Regions from separate parts of the Homo sapiens genome. Here regions 1, 3 and 4 are each linked to region 2. The links are contacts of gene promoters, found by promoter capture Hi-C in human tissues and cell types (Jung and others, 2019). All regions are on one chromosome and are shown on one strand. Each heading gives the region's core, a stretch centred on a gene start or on the middle of the fragment in contact. The rest is flanking DNA. Distances are from core to core; before and after follow the strand shown. Region 1 overlaps LOC105377286 (a long non-coding RNA gene). Region 2 holds the start of SHROOM3 (shroom family member 3). Region 3 overlaps SHROOM3 (shroom family member 3). Region 4 overlaps SHROOM3 (shroom family member 3).

Evidence for each region. The method cuts DNA at HindIII sites, captures the fragments that hold promoters and counts their contacts. A contact is called where the count stands out against the background at its distance.
Region 1: a fragment that was not itself captured here is called in contact with the fragment with the promoter of SHROOM3 in region 2 in 2 of the 25 tissues and cell types used here (hippocampus and neural progenitor cells).
Region 3: a fragment that was not itself captured here is called in contact with the fragment with the promoter of SHROOM3 in region 2 in 2 of the 25 tissues and cell types used here (adrenal gland and neural progenitor cells).
Region 4: a contact is called between a fragment that was not itself captured here and the fragment with the promoter of SHROOM3 in region 2, in 1 of the 25 tissues and cell types used here (mesendoderm cells).

What each region holds. Positions count from the first base shown.
Region 1 is chr4:76,244,709-76,247,694 of GRCh38, reverse strand. It overlaps LOC105377286 (a long non-coding RNA gene), which reads left to right. Exons shown (of 3, transcript XR_938897.4): 2 at 2,525-2,600. It also overlaps a transcript of FAM47E not described here. Among named protein-coding and RNA genes, the nearest start is that of FAM47E, 5.5 kb to the left of the region's middle. The HindIII fragment of the contact is 9,167 bases long and covers 1-2,986 here.
Region 2 is chr4:76,433,858-76,436,644 of GRCh38, reverse strand. It overlaps SHROOM3 (shroom family member 3), which reads right to left and starts at 1,416. Exons shown (of 11, transcript NM_020859.4): 1 at 425-1,416. The coding sequence starts at 592. The HindIII fragment of the contact is 12,167 bases long and covers 1-2,787 here.
Region 3 is chr4:76,581,019-76,583,865 of GRCh38, reverse strand. All of the region lies in intron 2 of SHROOM3 (shroom family member 3), which reads right to left. Among named protein-coding and RNA genes, the nearest start is that of MIR548AH, 6.9 kb to the right of the region's middle. The HindIII fragment of the contact is 9,198 bases long and covers 1-2,847 here.
Region 4 is chr4:76,604,021-76,606,771 of GRCh38, reverse strand. The region is part of intron 2 of SHROOM3 (shroom family member 3); the gene reads right to left. Among named protein-coding and RNA genes, the nearest start is that of MIR548AH, 30 kb to the right of the region's middle. The HindIII fragment of the contact is 5,373 bases long and covers 1-2,751 here.

The DNA of each region.
Region 1 (2,986 bases), core at 263-2,762, 190 kb after region 2:
AGTCATTAAGGAAATGCAAATCAAAACCACAATGAGATACTACTTCACACCAATTAGGATGGTTATAATAATAAAAACAAACGAATAGAAAATAACAAGTGTTGGTGAGGATGTGGAGAAATTAGGACACTCATGCATTGCTGGTGGGAATATAATATCTTGCAATTGCTGTGGAAAATAGTTTGGCAGTCCTCAAAAAGCTAAGCAAAGGTTTACCATATGACACATCAATTCCACTCTTAGGTATATACCTAAAAGAATTAACAACAGGAACTCAGATATTTGTACATCAATGTTTATGGCAGCATTATTCACAATAGCCAAAAAGTGATAAGAACCCAAGTGTCCACCAACAGATGAATTAATAAACAAAATGTGGCATATACATACATGGAAAATTATTCATAAAAAGAATGAAATTTTGATAAGTTATAACATGGATTAACCCTGAAAACATGCTAAGTGAAAGAAGTCAAATGCAAAAGGACATATAGTGTATAACTCCATTATATGAAATATCTAGAATAGGCAAACTCATGAGACAGAAAGTAAATTAGAGATTTTTAGGGACTGGGAGAAGGAAGAAATGAGGAGTTAGTGCATAATGGATACAGAGGTTTTTTTGGAGGATGATGAAAAAATTTTGAAATAGTGATAATGATTGCATAATATTGTAAATGTAATTAATGCCACCAAATTATAAACTTTAAAAGAATGGTTAAAGTTACAAATTTCATGTTACATATATTTTGACACAATTTTTTAAAGTTGTAAAAAATACCAAAAAAAGAAGGAAATTTGAAAATTAATGAGCTAAGAATCCAACTTAACAAATTGGAAAGATAGTCAAATAAATCCCAAAAGAAGTATGTTTTTAATGTTGAGCAAAAGAAGCCAGACGTCAAGAGTATACACTGTGTTCCTATTAACATGAAGTTTTAAAACAGGCAAAATTAATTTATAATGATAAATGTCAGAATTGTGGTTACTTGGCGGGTAACTGACAAAGAGAAGGCATGAGGGAGTCTGCTAGGAAGATGCAAATCTTCTACATCTTGATCTAGTTGGTGGATATGTTAGTACATATGTAAAATTTTAATGAGCTATACACATCAGATTTGTGCATTTTACTATGTAAGTTATTCAATAAGAGAAAAGCAAAAAATGCAGCATTTTCCATCAGGAAAATAATCCTAGAGAAATCTCTACCCCATTATCACATAAAGAAACAAGCTTCCTGGGAGCCCTAGGGCACCCTAAAGTCTGCAGACTTTCCCCTAAACATTCCTTATTTTGTGGTACTCATCCAGGGGAAGGATATTTAAAATATTTAACAACCAGTAAAGCATATACACTAACCAATCAGGAAGATGGCCAGCCAGATTGCAACAACGGAGTCCTAGAGTCCCCTAATCATAATGGCAATACCTTCCTTTAGTTGCTGATCTTGTAGAGAGTGGCTGGAGCCACCAGAGCACAGCAGTCACTCAGAATTGCTCAGAGCAGTGGCTATTTACCAACCAACACAGTGTTTTGACAACCATTATAGTCCTAAACCTTGCTTACCAGCTTACTGTCAACCTTCTCCCTCACCCACAGAATCTCTCTAGAGATTTTCCTGCATAGTGTTTTAAGTGGCTTCTTGAAAACTGCCCTCAGTGTAGACTACACCTGCAAACCAAATAACAATGGGGGTAAAGGCATGACACCAATAGTCAACAGGAGCATTTCTCACTTGGTCAGTAGCATTGAGCATGATGGCAGATAGGGGATTACAGATAAAATTGACAAGGTTCCTGCCCTCAGGAGGTTATGGTTAAGTGGATGGATGGGTCCTTTAGTTCGGTCAGGCTGCTAGATTTGAGGAGATGCCTGAGCCATCTGCAATAGGCTAGACACACTTAAAGGAAGATAGTGGAGATCTGTACCTCCACTCTTTGTTGAACAGTGGGCCATGAAGAGTAGATGGGATGTAGGGATACATTGCTGGTGGGAGTGTAGCTAGAACAGTTATTAGGAGAACAATCTGAAAGGACTTAGTCAAACCAAGTATATGGTATCTGCTGGCTGATTTGTTCTTCACTGCCCCTGCCTGCTCTGCCCTGGCGTCAGCAAGCTGCACTGGGGGCTGGGTTCGGCTAGTGGAAAGCACTAATAGGAGATTGGGGATGGAGGAAGGGAACAGTCAGGCTATTTTTCTCTCTCCATCTCTCTCCTATTTATAGAGGCATCTATATTTCTTCCTTCTCTTGGAGCTCCCACCAGGTGCTATGATTCCGGCTTTTGTCACATGACTCAAACTCTTGGTTCCAAGCAATTCGTGCAGTTTAGGTGTGGTAGGGGTTTCCTATTATTGCCAGTCTCTAGATTACCTATGTCCCCTGTTTGGCTCTCAGCTCTTTCATCACCTCTGTAACTATTCCCTGCATTAAAATCTTAGTTTTACACACTTAGAGTGGCTTCTGTTTTCCTGGTTTTACTCTGATACGTATGTTACTTATGACTCAGTATTTCCACTGCTAAGTATAGGAATCCAGAGGAATTCTCACACACAAGGCAAGACGTATGAGGATGTTGCTGCAGCATCGTTACTAGTGTTGGTGAGTTGGGGGCAATGTGCATGTCCATTTCTGTGAAATGAGTGGATAAAATGGATGGATAATTAGGCATCATTAGAAGCAATAGTCTAGATAGATACTCAGCAACATGATTAGACTTTTAAAAATATATTGCTGAATGAAGAAAAACAGAATGAAACTTTTACTACAATGTGGTTTATATAAAACTGTGCATAAAAAACAAAAATGTACCTCTTATAAGAATTCTGAGAGAAAACATATGTCAACACTTAATGACAGGCCAGGCGCAGTGGCTCACGCCTGTAATCCCAACACTTTGGGAGGCCGAGGTGGGTGGATCACGAGGCCAGGAGTTCAAGACCAGCCTGGCCAAGATGGTGAAACCCCGTCTCTACTAAAATACAAAA
Region 2 (2,787 bases), core at 167-2,666:
ATCCAGAATTATAAGCAAACTTAAAATATTTTTAGATGCTATTTTCAGTTGAAGAGAGAAAAAGCAGATATTTTTGAATGCACAAATATATACCATGCCACCATCTTAACCATGTTATTAATCTTTAATCTGATTTATAACTGAAAAGCTCATGTGGTAACTGATTGTATGCGATTTCATTCACAAAAAGAGAAGATTATCCATCAAACAGGCATATTTTTCTTCGGATTTCATAGAATAAATGAGCTAGACACATTTTTCTTTCAAATCCCAGGCTATCCAAAATATTTCTAGATAATCAGAAAGGCATGAAACAGCAAATTAAGTTATATTAAGGCAGTTCTCATTATTTTGCATTTTTGACAAATCTGACAAGTTGAAAAAAACAATTTGAATAAAGGCAATATTGGAAAAAGAAACATACCTTAGAGATGATTAATGGTTCTCCGTGCTCCAGGCCACCCTTTAGAGTAAAACCCCAGGGAGCTCCTCCCTCCAGGAATGCCTCCAGATAAATGTACCTTCCCTTGGTGGCCGTGTTAGAGTTTAATGTGGCACTAGGCTTGTGGAAGTCTTCAGTGGTCCTCATCATGCCAAACACATGATCCCTCAAGTTAAATTTAAAATGCCTGAAGCAAACTCAGGCAAGCAGTGCTTCTACAGCACAAGTTGTCCCATCCTTCAGGACACACAATGGCCAAAAGAGAGGTTTGGAGAAGCAAATTCTTCCATACGTAAAATGTTCTTCCAAGCTGAACTCCAAGATGCTGAACCAGAAGGAATTTTCACTTCAACATTTCTGAATGTAAATCCTCCTCCAGGAATTCTGGGTTCTCACTGAAGCCCCCAAGTGGTATACATCTCTACTCCGTTCGTCAAAACTTCCTTCAGTGGCGCTCTGAAGATTGCTTTTCTGAGCTTTTATTTCACACATACACACACTAAAACCATTTCTGCCTATTTTACAGAGAAAATTAAAAGCATCTTACAATATAGTAAGAAAATCACAAATACTCAAAGGAATACCTCATTTTTGATTGATTATCAACCCTTTCTTCCTCTCGGAGTGAAATTTACCATTACAATAGCCTCCTCCCTCCCCAGAAGTAGCTTAAAAAGAAAGAAAGCACTTACTATGCTTCGGCTCACTTCAGAATTTTCTAACTTGTCCCGAAGAGACAGAGAAGCTGTGCTAAAACTTTTTACTTCTTTTTTTCAACAATCAGTTCATAGTTTGTTTCTTAGGAGAGAAAAAAACTTTTGCAGGATGTAGAGAAAATGAAAAAGCACGGTAAATTAATCCTCAATGGAAAAAATATGAAGGAGGCAGCTCAGTTCTTTTCTTTGGTATTTTCAGTGATGATCAGCCACTGCTGCGGCCGCCACAGCCACTTGCCTCCTCTTGAGAGAAAGAGTAAGGAAGTTAGAGGAACATGGATTAAGGCAAAGTGAGGCATTGCAACCTTTCTGCACAGTAAGCACTGCCATGCAGAATTCAGCTCACCACAAAGACCTGACAATTCAAACAGTCTTACAGTTAATAACACGTAGGAAGTTAAAAATACTATACAGATGGCTAATTGCCAAGGGATAGAAAATAGTTCCTAGAATAGCCCCGCCTCGTACCAATTAAAGGAGAATTTCAGGGAGTGAGACATAGGCATTTGTGTTTTTAAAAACCCTCCAGGCAATTCTGCTATGCAGCCAAGTTTGAGAAGCAATGCCTAAGTGATTTGGGTAAACGTTTAAGTACATGTCAAGGTGGTGGCACAAGGGCTTTTTTTTTTTCGTTAGAAGAAAATACTACCAGTGTAATATATGAAATGGGACTTTCCAATCAAAGTTCTGCTTGTTTGACTCAATAAAAACAGGAGGTGGGTTTTTTTTTCTAGGTTTTCATTGTTATCTACTCCAAGATTGTTATCCACTCTTTAAATGAAAAGAAATCTACAATGCCTTGTGGGTAAGTACTAGGTACTCGGGAAAGAATGTTGTTCTGATTTCATGTTACCAGTGTCATTTTGTAATAATGTTATATACAAATTTAACATTCATGCTTTGTATTAAAAATTTGAACAGTAGAAGATAACCATATCTAACCCAGAAGCCTCAGCTATTTAGTTATTGGAACAGATTAGAATTACTTCCAGGTAATATATGTACTAAAACTTTTTTCTGTTTAAAAGTATGGGATAATGAGAATTAAGTTGAAAACTGAAGTTAAAAACTACTGTGGGGCTTGATAACAATTATTTTGGTGTTTGTACTTATAATTAATGAAAGGCTGATATGGAAAGGCAGGTATATGATATCAAACTACACGATATTTAATTTACAACACTGGACAGGTATTGTTTGATTTTCAATGGTAACTTCACTTGAAGGGCTCAAAGACAAAAAAAAAAAAAAAAAAGTAAAACCTTATGTAATGGTAGTATGTGAATGGAAACATAAGGAAACCTAAGGTGTACCAAATGAAAGTATGTGGTAAAAATTGGCTGATTCTTAAGGGTAATTTACGCAATTTCTATTGTGGTTTTCTTTTACAGCTTAATTTGTAAGTTAGAATAAATGGAGAAACATTAGCTTTTCTTTCATTTCAAAGAACATATGTATTTTAAATAAAAGTCCTAGGTAAATGAACAGCTTTCTTTCTGAAAAAATTAATTTATGAGGCTCTTATTATGTTACTCCTAATACATTTTGTAAAAACTGGGATTTTACAGAATCCACATTTAATATTAAAAGTAACATAGCTATACAAAATTTCAGTTAGGAGGCATAAGC
Region 3 (2,847 bases), core at 36-2,535, 150 kb before region 2:
ATTTTTGGTCCACTACAATAGAAATTTCATGTGGTTCCAACCTACAGTTGACCCATAGTTAGTAGTTACTATGTGTCGGTAGTTACCATGTTACATTCTCTAATCATCACCACAATTCTATAAGGTAAATATTATAATTATTACTCCAACTTTACAGATGTGGAAACTGAGGCTTCGAGAAGTAACTTGTTGAACATTTTACAGCCAGCAAGCAGCAGATCTGGAATGCACACCTAAGCAATCTGACCACAGAGCCCATGTTCTGAACCACCACCCTCTGAGATAAAGGCTTTGCATTCACCAGCTTTGTGATTGCAGGCAAATTATTCAGCTTTTCCAAGCGTCAGTTTTCTCTCCTCTGAAATGGGTACCTATCTGATGTGAGGACTGAAGGTGATGCTATGAAAAAGCACTTAGCATAGTGCTTGGTCTACAGGAAGAGCTCTAATGTTACCCAGTTGTGGTGGTATGGGCTGGATGGTCGCTCTTCCTACCTTCATCATGACCTGAGGTGAGAGCATAGAGCACGACCTTTCACCCTTGGGTGGTTGGGTGGCCACTCATGGACAGAAGAATGGTGAGCTCAGGGGTCCTCAAGTCTGGAGATGATGCCGTCCTAAGTCAGTGCAGACAACTCTGGTGCATAGGATGTTCTTTACACTGGAATGTGCACCAGCTCCCCTCATTTAGAAGGAAGACCATCCACACCACGCTGCTCCCCCAGCCCAGGTAAGACCTGCCCACAGCCCCATCTTGTATTTCCTCCTTTCTCTACATCTGAGTTCTAGAGAGCATTCAGACTCAGCTGTGATCAAAAACAAACGCATCTGTTCCTCATGTGGAATGCTCTCACAAACATCTTGACTTCTCACTTTCTACCTGTCCAGATTCTTTGGCAATCACTTGCAGAGGGTTAGGCCATTCTTGTTGGAAGAAGTAATGATGATCTAATCTGGAAGCAGTGCTGTGGACCCCGCTGCACACTGGACCAGAAGGGAGGGGACATTGCTTTCCCTTCTGGCTCTGCCACTGATTAGCACGTGACCTTGAACACGTTACTTATTGTCTAAGGCTCTGTTCCTCATCCTTGGAGGAGGCCTCTGGTCTAGAACATCACTCAGTGTCTTCCTAGTCCTAATATTTGTGGTGAAGAGAGGATAAAAAGGAATAAACTAGATGAGTGTTTGAATATGGTGCTTTCATTTTTTTCTCTCAAAGCTAGTAGCTCATCTACTCAAGCACATCCTGTTTTCTCCTAATTGCCATTTTATAAGCCCAGGGCAGGAGAGTTTTATGTTACTCTGTTGATGAACTGCAGACCAAGATGAATAGCCTTGATTTCTGAACACCAGATTTCCGCTGGTCTTTTTCCTTAATGATTTGCACATGGCCTTGTGAGGTGCTTGTTTGGGATTAGAGATGAAGGTCTATGGTGGGAAAGCTGCACAAAATAATGAAGACTGTGGTTTCTTTGCTCATTTTTTTTTTTTAATTTCTGGGTCTGTCCATAACAGTTAAACTATTCTCTAGGTGTTGTAAGGTAGATTGATTTTCTGTGTAAGGTAGGTTTAAATGCCTGTAGGGCATAGCCATTTAAACTCCCAGGAGGAACTTAGGAAATTTATGAATGGGGGAGCTAGAAACAGCCTCTTGAACTCTTGGTCTGGTTTTCTAAGAGCACTCACCAACTTCTAACACACTGTTTCATTCACATATGTATTGTGTTTGTTATTTATTGCTTCTGCTCACAAGAATGTCAGCTCCATGAGACAGAGGTTTTTGATTTTTATCATGGCTGAGTTCCAAACACCTAGAGCAATGGCTGGCATTTATTAGGTGCTTAATAAATAAACTTTACAAAATATGCAAAAGATTCAGGTAGAACAGGTGTCCTGTACATCTCACTTTTGGAAGTCACACTGCATCTTTAGAAGGAAGAGTGATTGTAGAATAAATCTCAATGGTGAGGGTAGAGACCAGGTCCAAGATGATGATGATGTGTTAGACAGTAAATGAACTTCGTGGGGTTCACGATTAGTTTAGCCCAACTCTGCAAATTCCCACATATAGGTTTCAGGTTGAAAGAAAACTGGGCAGTGAGCCTAGATAGAAACTCAGTAAGCTTAGTTTCTCCCTTATAGCCCATTTTCATTTAATTTCCTGGGAAATTGTATTTGTTGAACTCCAAGTATGTCTGAAAGAGTCAGATCCTTGAAAATGCTGTAAGGGAAGCAGACACACAGCAGCTGAGCCCAATGCTCATTTTACACTCAGGCAATCATTTTTTATCCCAGGCTGATGACACCGTAACTTTAACAATTTTGATGAGATAATGGCTCCAGGCTTCTTAGTATCATAAAAGATGTCAGTTAAGTCCAAAGTATTATTATACAATGCCTGTCCAGTATAATAACTGTAGGACATAAACCACTTATGATACAGCAATCGAAAGGCACACAAATGAAAATGACTGGAATTACAGATGAGAATCAACACATTTTTTCAATTTAATTTTGCTTCTTTTCTACTGGCCTAAAGTAATCATATCCCCCTGTTCTTTTTTCTCTCTTTCCACATTCTTTAATTCTTTGGGGAAACCAAGGTATTTCTTCACAAGAATGTTACTGGCCAGAAGGTAGCAATTAAAGGCATTGAACTCAATCATCCCTTCAAAGTCCCAACATCCCAGACAGGGAAAACCAAGTTACCATTTAGTGCTAAGAATAGCAGGTAAAAGAGTTACATTTGGGTTCACAATTTATTCTTAGGAATGAAAAAAAAAGCCTCTTGGAGAAAAATCATTGTGGAACACAAACTAGCATTATTAATGATCCATTTCAATCTCTG
Region 4 (2,751 bases), core at 38-2,537, 170 kb before region 2:
GAGGTAAAGGTTTTTACTCCCATTTTATTTATTTATGTACGTATGTATGTATGTATGTATTTATTTTTTGAGAGGGAGTCCTGCTCTGTTGCCCAGGCTGGAGTGGAGTGGTGTGATCTCAGCTCACTACAACCTCTGCCTCCAGGGTTCAAGTGATTGTCCTGCCTCAGCCTCTCAAGTAGCTGAGATTACAGGCACCTGCCACCAGGCCTGGCTAATTTTTGTATTTTAGTAGAGATGGGGTTTCACTATATTGGTCAGGCTGGTCTCCAACTCCTGACCTCAAATGATCCACCCGCCTCCCAAAGTGCTGGGATTACAGGTGTGAGCCACTGCACCCAGCCTTTACTATCATTTTACAGATAAAAAACCAACATTCAGAGTAGCTAACATGCACCACACTGGTAAGCAGCAGTCGGTAGTAAGCATAACACTTAAAAGTATTTGTTTGTTTAAAATATATAGTATTTGGTGGCTCACACCTGTAATCCCAGCACTTTGGGAGGCCGAGGCAGGCAGATCACAAGGTCAAGAGATTGAGACCATCCTGGCCAACTTGGTGAAACCCTGTCTCTACTAAAAATACAAAAATTAGCTAGGCGTGGTGGCAGGCGCCTGTAATACCAGCTACTTAGGAGGCTGAGGCAGGAGAATCGCTGGAATCCGGGAGGTGGAGGTTGCAGTGAGCCGAGATTGCACCACTGCACTCCAGCCTGGCAACAGAGTGAGACTCCGTCTCAGAAAAAAAAAAAAAAAAAAAAAAATATATATATATATATATGTGTGTGTGTGTATATGTGTATATATATGTATATATATATGTGTATATATATATATAGAGAGAGAGAGAGAGAGAGAAAATTGTGCCTTTAATACATTTTTGGAACTATGAAATGATAAAGAGTGATTCTGTATCAAAGGTGTTATAGAAAGAAATTGAATGGTAGCTATTAGAATTTCTACCAAGGGTCTTTAAGGTCACATTTTAGAAAACAAGGATTTTTTCCATCTATTTAAAAGCATACATCTTTTCATTTTTTCTGTTTTTGTTTTTGCTCTGGGATTTATGCCACTGAAAAAATATTTTCCCCCTCTTCAGCAACTTAATTAGGTTTTTTCCCTTTGTTGTCACTTAGCTGAGTTACATAGTTCTCTCAACAACTAAGCAATTCTATTTGACCATTTATTTATAGTTTCCTTTTTGCTATTTATTTCTTAAATAGGATTATTTTAATTTCTGCTTACCCAAGTTAGAGGAATGAGTCATACCTGCCTGTTCTCTGACAGTTTAAGGGGATACAAAATGGGATGTGTTGAGGCTAAAAGGCATGCCTAGTTCAAATCTAATTTATGGTGCTCATTATTTTTCCAACTTTTCTTAGAATTTTTATAATGAGAACTGTTCTCTCCCACTAGAATGCAATAAAATGGTGCCTCGAAATCCTCTTCCGGGCTGTATGTCATTTAGGTATTTCCCGGGCAAATCCTAGCTGTTGATTTCTCCACTTGTTTTTAATTAAAGTTCACTCTGATGATGCTGTCATGGCCATGACTCCACTGCTGCACCGACAACATTGAAGTCATCATGAAATAGGGCTGACTGATCTTCCTACAACAAATCTTTCCACACGTACACTCATACTGATGCTTTTACCGCCATGGGGACATTACTTTTCAAGCCTGCATTTGAGCTGTGTAAGAGGTATTTAAATCCAAATCAGTTTAATGTTTATTAGTAATGCTTCATTCAGCACTATATCAAAGGTGCATGCACCTTGACCCTTGAGGAATTCAATCCAGGGAAATATATTAGATTGATTTTTGGCATTTTAGAGACAAAATGGACCCTACAGATAAACTAGTTCACATTTTTGGTTTCATAGATAAGTAACTCCTTAGCCTTATATAGTCAGCTAATTGTTTACTTACTACAAATTCAATCTAAAATCAACAGAATAAATTCCTAGAAATCTTATTTTGAACGCAAGGTCACTTTTGTCTTACAAAACTTACTATTTTAGTGTTTCAACATCCCTGCTATTTCTGTTTCCTATACTGCCTTAGATGGTTGTGATTTCAAAAGTTTCAGACATTGTCTAACAATTATCAACATCAATGCTTAAAAAACAATGATTTCTAATATTTTCATGGCATCCTTCAGGTGGACGGTTACCATTTGAACATTTTAATGAAGGCATTCCAACTTTGAAGAGATCATTTTGATCAAGTGCCTTTGTTCACCAGAATAACACACAGACAACTTAGATACCACACTAAATTTAGTTAAGCTCAAAAGCAATCATGTGTCTTTATGTAGGAAAGCAAGTGAGACATGTTCTAGAAAATAAATTGAAAACCCAAAGCTGCAAAACCATCTTTACCTGTTTGTGTACAGCATTTTGATCCTATCATGCATTAGGAACAATAAATATTATACAACATGTCAGCAACTTGGCATAAATATAGCCAGACCATATTTGATATCAACATCCTTTAAAGCACAATCAACCAGTAGCCCCCAAGTATTACAACAGGCTAAAAGTGTTGAAAACATCCTCTTCCAAGGCAGCCAGAGGCTCCAATTCTAATAAATGTCCTTGGCTGCCTGAAGACTGAGATGCTCTACAGGCTTAAGAATACAAGATGCAGTCGGGCACAGTGGCTCACGCCTGTAATCCCAGCACTTTGGGAGGCCGAGGTGGGCGGATCATGAGGTCAGGAGTTTGAGACCAGCCTGGCCAACATAGTGAA